Linked DNA regions of Homo sapiens: region 2 is linked to region 1. Evidence: promoter capture Hi-C in 16 types of primary human blood cells and fetal thymus (Javierre and others, 2016). All regions are on one chromosome and are shown on one strand. The core of a region is centred on a gene start or on the middle of the fragment in contact, and the rest is flanking DNA. Distances in the headings are between cores, read along the strand shown. Region 1 holds the start of POFUT4 (protein O-fucosyltransferase 4). Region 2 overlaps USP54 (ubiquitin specific peptidase 54).

Region 1 (3,191 bases), core at 604-3,103:
CCAGAGCCTTTTCAGCGTCTCCTCCTTCAGTCAGATCACCAGTGGTTTGGTGAGGGCAGGGAGTCAAGGAGAATATGGGTGTGGAAGTATACTTTGTGAAACAATTGGGAGCCAATATAGTTAGTGTGCTAGTACCCTCAAATATCAGGGAACACTTGGGGACAAGGGCAGTTGCTGTCATTCTTCCCAGGTTTGCCTGTTTCAGATGATGCATACATGTATGCTGCCCCACCTTGACTGAACTCAGAGTGCCTTACCATAAGGATAAATGAATTTTGTGTTCTAGAGTGTTCTGCCAGTTCTGGATAATCCACTGTCCAAGAAGGTTCGAGGCCTCATTGATAGCTTACGGGCACAGAGATCCCGGTACATGAAGGTAACACTGATCTGAACCCTGGATTTCTTACCTTGTCAAGTCCTCACCTAGAAGTGGGGGTTGGGTGGGGAATGAGTAAGTGACTGCCTAATGAGATTTCTGGGCATGTTTAATTTCCTTTGGCCTTGCCTTATGAACCCTGAATTCTGGCCGTAGCTTACCGTGGTGAAACAGGAAGACAAGATGGAGATGCTGTTCAAGCACTTCCTGGTGGAAGACAAGAGTCTGAGTGGGGGAGCATCTTATGTGGACTTTCTCTGTCATATGCACAAGGAGATTCGGCAGCTACTGAGCTAAAGCAAGTGGGTAAATGGCATAGGGCCCAGGCTAGCTTCCAGAAAGCACCCCAGGATGTCAGAGAAATTGGGACAGTAACATATCTTATGTAAGCTGACCTCAGTCTCTCTGGGGGGAGGGGGAGATATAAGGAGACACCTTCTTTCTGGGCTCAAGTATCCTGCCACTCTGTCATGTCCTGCTGATGGAAGGTGCCCCTGTTCCCTCATTCTACCCTCTTTTTCCTGCTAATCCTGTCATAATGAATGTAGCTTCTCAGTTCACTGTATATGATTCGGTATTGGGGGTTTGGAGGCACCCAGACCCTGGCAATATTATGTGTCCCTTTGGACCAGTCTCCCAAGAGGAGAGGGGCAGGCAGGAAAGAGTGGGGATCCTAAGGTTACTACAGGGGGCTCAGTGTCATCCACAACTTCCTATATTAGGGATAAAACATATAGGTGCACAAGAGCTGGGGTATAGCCCATAGGTGGTGGAGAGAAAAGTGGTCAGTCCTTCTTGGGCCTGGAGGTTAGCAGTCAAGTTTCTCTGCTTTCACTGCTCGCTCGCTCTCTCCTGCAATGATTGATGATCACTCCGTGGATAGAGAGGCACACTGTCAGAGGTGACCGGAGAACTGAGTTGCAAAATATATTAAGATCTGGTAGAGGTACCAGCTTCCTTTCCAGCTGGAGAGGCCCCAACACTGGATGGTTCTGTAGGGAGCCTAGGGAGCCTGGTCATCAACTTGCAATACCTCACAGAGCCAGTTCACATCCCACTCTGAGCTCCCACGAGAAACACTGCTTCTCCAGGCCCGGGGTTGTTGGGGAGAGAGGCAGAGGCAGCTGGAGCGCCGTTCTCTCCTGCTGGGACACCGCTTGGGCTTTGGTATTGACTGAGTGGCTGACAGTTATCTTCCAACCCCAACTGGCTTGGGGGCAGGACAAGGGCTAGGCTTGATGGTGGCCAGGCTTGCCTGCTCCCCACCTGGGATGCCCCTGCTCTGGACCTCTCATTTCTCTTCATTGGTTTATTTTTCAATGCATCTTTAATTTGTAAAGAAATAAAATAAATTAAGATGTAACCATTAGCCTCATCTTTACTCCCGAAAGCTCACTTTGCTTTTAGTCCTGGCCGTCGGCTGAGCGAGCTGCGCATGCGCCACGTGCCCCCGTGGCGTAGGGCCTCGTCCGGTCACGACTATCCGCTGGGCGGGGTCGGTGCTGGCCGAGGGGGCGCCGGCTGCCGGAGTGGACATGGCGGCCGGCCCCATTAGGGTGGTGTTGGTCCTTCTAGGGGTGCTCAGTGTCTGTGCAGCCAGCGGCCATGGGTCCGTAGCGGAGAGGGAGGCCGGCGGGGAGGCGGAGTGGGCGGAACCGTGGGATGGCGCGGTTTTCCGGCCGCCCTCGGCGCTGGGCGCAGTGGGGGTGACGCGCAGCTCTGGGACGCCGCGGCCAGGGAGGGAGGAGGCGGGGGACTTGCCGGTACTGCTGTGGTGGAGCCCAGGGCTATTCCCCCACTTCCCGGGAGACTCGGAGCGCATCGAGTGTGCGCGCGGCGCGTGCGTGGCGTCCCGGAACCGCCGAGCGCTGAGGGACTCGCGGACGCGCGCGCTGCTCTTCTACGGCACAGACTTCCGCGCGTCGGCCGCCCCGCTGCCGCGCCTGGCGCACCAGAGCTGGGCGCTCCTCCACGAGGAGTCGCCCCTCAACAACTTCTTGCTGAGCCACGGCCCGGGCATCCGCCTCTTCAATCTTACCTCCACCTTCAGTCGCCACTCGGATTACCCGCTGTCGCTGCAGTGGCTGCCCGGGACCGCCTATCTGCGCCGCCCGGTGCCTCCGCCCATGGAACGCGCGGAGTGGCGCCGCCGCGGCTACGCGCCGCTGCTCTATCTGCAGTCACACTGCGACGTGCCAGCGGACCGGGACCGCTACGTGCGCGAGCTCATGCGCCACATCCCGGTGAGTGAGGGCGGGCCGGAGGGAAGGAAAAGGAGAGGGCGGGTTGAGGCCAGGACTCCAGGTGTCCAGGACTCCAGGTGTCCAGGACTCCAGGTGTCCAGGCCTCCAGGGCCGCACCCTCATGACAGCCTTACTGTACCCGGTCTAGGTAGACTCCTACGGGAAATGCCTGCAGAATCGGGAGCTGCCTACCGCGCGGCTACAGGACACAGCCACGGCCACCACCGAGGATCCAGAGCTCTTGGCTTTCTTGTCCCGCTATAAGTTCCACTTGGCCCTGGAAAATGCCATCTGTAACGACTACATGACAGAAAAACTGTGGCGTCCCATGCACCTGGGCGCTGTGCCCGTGTACCGCGGTTCTCCCTCTGTGAGGGACTGGATGCCGAACAATCACTCCGTCATCCTGATTGATGATTTTGAGTCTCCTCAGAAGCTGGCAGAGTTTATTGACTTTCTGGACAAGAATGATGAGGAGTATATGAAATACCTGGCATACAAGCAACCTGGGGGCATCACCAACCAATTTCTTCTGGATAGTCTGAAGCATCGGGAGTGGGGAGTGAATGATC
Region 2 (3,140 bases), core at 85-2,584, 250 kb before region 1:
TACCGGATGAAAAGGCTAGGAAGTACAGGCAGAAAAATTTTTGTAAAAGAACTCTCATGTTTATGTATCCCTTGCCCTCTACTTACTCATAATCATACATTGGCAGCAAGCTGTAATGTAATTTCACCTACAAATGGGATTGCCAGTGAGCCTTCACAAGGTTGCAGGGAAAAAAAAATGTCTGAGTCACTTCTCCCATAATGTCCCTCATCCTCCACTTACCTCCAGCAGGACATGGTAAGAAAGGCTCTTCCACATCCCTAACATTCACTTCCTAATTCATCATGACTTTTTGAGAGCAATGGGAAGACAATGGAAACAGCAGGTTGGTTCTGAAGAACTTGGCACTCAGGATCCACTCTATCTCTAGAGGTGTGGTTTCCCTTACTCCCCAGACCTGAAGTTCTCTCATAATATTTGTAATCAACTAAATGTATACAACCTTTATAATCAGAGGTAGGGCGTAGAGCCATTTTTTTTAAGTTCTCTACTCTATGGAGATCTAGACAAGCTATAGTTGATCAATCACTGTACTAAATTTTAATTCTTATCCTTCAGAATCTTAGCATTCCATTCCTTGCTCATGCAGGAAATGCTGAACCACAGTGTATAGAGAACTGACAATGAAATATTGCCAGTGGGATCTCCTCCTAACTTTAATCTATTGCCCAACTGGCAGAGAGAGAAAAAAAGGAGAGAAATGACAAGACCCCTTTTTTCAGAAGCAAAATAAACCTGGGACACCAATGTGATACAGCTTGAGGTCAAAAAGGGAAAAAAGACTATCCAAATATAGAGACAGCTAAGTATTAGGAATTTAAAACTAATTTGGAAACTAATACAATGTCTTGGGAAATATAAGGCAACAATTACCTTGAATCAAAAGAGAGTAGTATTAAAGGAAAAAAGCTGCCCCCAAACAGGATTACTTGGCCCAAGAAGATTCTCTAAGTGTATATAAAAAGAGAAAAGTGGTCAACAGAAAACAGCCAGCAAAGTTAAAAGCTTGCACTTACAAACTGGGACCTTCATACTGCTTTAGCACAATTTGTTGTAAGTGGGGTTTCCGAATTATAAAAACAATAAAGTCATTTTATAGGAAAAAAACTAAGATATATGGCCTATTTAAGGTAGATACTTCAGCTTGGCTGAACTATTTTGAAGGCTAGTCTCTTTTGGTACAAAGTGACATCCTAAAAAAATTCTAGGAAGAAAAAAAGTCTAACATGGGGCAGTTGTGGAAGTAAAGTCCATGCAAATTGTTTGAGGTTACAGAATCAATTGTCATGGTATCAAAAGTAAACTGGCTTTGTTCTTGCTCCTGTTTGGCAGATCCACTTCCCTGATGCTCCAGGTGGAATATTTCATGGGTATGTTTCTTCCCAGCAAGTAGAATTCCCCTCACTGTCAGTGTGGCTCACTGCCATTTTCAGCTATTTCTGACTCAAGGCTAGTTTTATTTACACCTTCAACAGATGTTCATGGGAAACATTATTCATGAACGATATACTATCTCTAATCTATAGGCTTTTAATAGATGTGCCCCAAATCAGTGCCTATCTCCAGTCAATAGTCTTGTCACATCCTACTCTAACTTGTTCTCACTGGAATGGGTGAATTAAGACTTAAAAAATTATTTTGCTAAAGAGAAGACAGGGAACTTACAAGCTTAGATGTTTTTTTCTACCCTTTCTGTCTGTCCCCATCACCCACAACCTAATGCTCACAACAATTACCCTGATTCTGCAGTTCATCCAAGTCCATGAAGCGGCTAGGATGAGGGTTAAACCCTTTCGCTGCCTCTAACTCCTTCTCCCGTTTTCTTCGAAGTTCCTGTTCCTGCGCCCTCCTGGCCACCTCTTCCTGCAATTCATCCAGTTCACTTTTAGAAGATATCTCCTCACCTGTAATATAAGCAAGGGAGAAGTCACCACATTTCCATTACCAAGACTAAGTACTTGATGAATTTATGACCACTGCAATACTTTCCTTTTGGAATTCTTGCTTTCAATTTGGAGTTTATTTATTTATTATTTATTATTATTATTATTATTATTATTATTATTATTATTATTATTTTGAGACGGAGTCTCACTGTGTTCCCAGGCTGGAGTGCAATGGCGCAATCTTGGCTCACTGCAACCTCCGCCTCCCGGGTTCAAGCGATTCTTCTGCCTCAGCTTCCTGAGTAGCTGGGACTACAGGCACATGCCACCAAGCCCAGCTAATTTTTGTGTTTTTAGTAGAGACGGGGTTTCACCATGTTGGTCAGGCTGGTCTCGAACTCCTGACCTCGTGATCCACCCACCTTGGCCTCCCAAAGTGCTGGGATTACATACAGGTGTGAGCCACTGCGCCTGGCCCAATTTGGAGCTTATATTTTGGATAATGCTTTCCATAATTAGATTCCGGATGGCACTTGGGCCAGGAATAATAATAATAATAACAACAGGCCGGGCATGGTGACTCACGCCTGTAATCCCAGCACTCTGGGAGGCCAAGGCGGGAGGATCACCTGAGGTCAGGAGTTTGAGACCAGCCTGGCCAACATGGTGAAACCCCGTCTCTACTAAAAATACAAAAATTAGCCAGGTTTGGTGGCAGGCGCCTGTTATCCCAGCTACTCGGGAGGCTGAGGCAGGAGAATCACTTTAACCCGGGAGGTGGAGGTTGCAGTGAGCCAAGATCGCGCCATTGCACTCCAGCCTGGGAGACAAGAGCAAGACTTCGTCTCAAAATAATAATAATAATAACAACAACAACAACAACATTTATGGAGTGCTTCACAACAATAGTATTACGCTGAACATTTGTTCAGCACTTACTATGTGCCAGAAACAGTTTTAAGCATGTTTACATGTATTATTTCATTTAATCATAACAACAACTTATGAGGTAGATACTATTACCCCCATTTTAGGAATGAGGAAACTGAGTCACAGGAGGATAAATAATTTGCCCAAGGTAAACCAAATGGGAAATAATGGAGCTAAATTAAAGTCAAGTAGGTTAAATTCATAATCATGCTCTAATCATTAGAGAACACTTTCTACCAGGTGCTGTCACTGACTGACTGGGGAGCTTCAAGAATGTCATTTTCTCACCCTTAATTTCCACCACCTCTTTGAATTTGTAAAATG

What was found. Contacts are between HindIII fragments. The CHiCAGO score rates a contact against its expected background, and 5 or more counts as called.
Region 2: a contact is called between a fragment that was not itself captured here and the fragment with the promoter of POFUT4 in region 1, in 3 of 17 cell types (M0 macrophages, M1 macrophages and M2 macrophages). The highest score is 6.6, in M0 macrophages.

The regions. Positions count from the first base shown.
Region 1 is chr10:73,770,423-73,773,613 of GRCh38, forward strand. POFUT4 (protein O-fucosyltransferase 4) reads left to right here and starts at 1,854. Exons shown (of 3, transcript NM_173540.3): 1 at 1,854-2,619; 2 at 2,768-3,191. The coding sequence starts at 1,912. It overlaps SEC24C (SEC24 homolog C, COPII component), which reads left to right. Exons shown (of 23, transcript NM_198597.3): 21 at 1-49; 22 at 287-376; 23 at 533-1,739. The coding sequence ends at 673. RefSeq lists enhancers at 1,576-1,755, 2,346-2,455, 2,741-3,191, 3,116-3,165 and a silencer at 2,086-2,135. The HindIII fragment of the contact is 15,546 bases long and covers 1-3,191 here.
Region 2 is chr10:73,521,847-73,524,986 of GRCh38, forward strand. It overlaps USP54 (ubiquitin specific peptidase 54), which reads right to left. Exons shown (of 24, transcript NM_001391956.1): 17 at 1,737-1,904. Among named protein-coding and RNA genes, the nearest start is that of PPP3CB, 27 kb to the left of the region's middle. The HindIII fragment of the contact is 663 bases long and covers 1,004-1,666 here.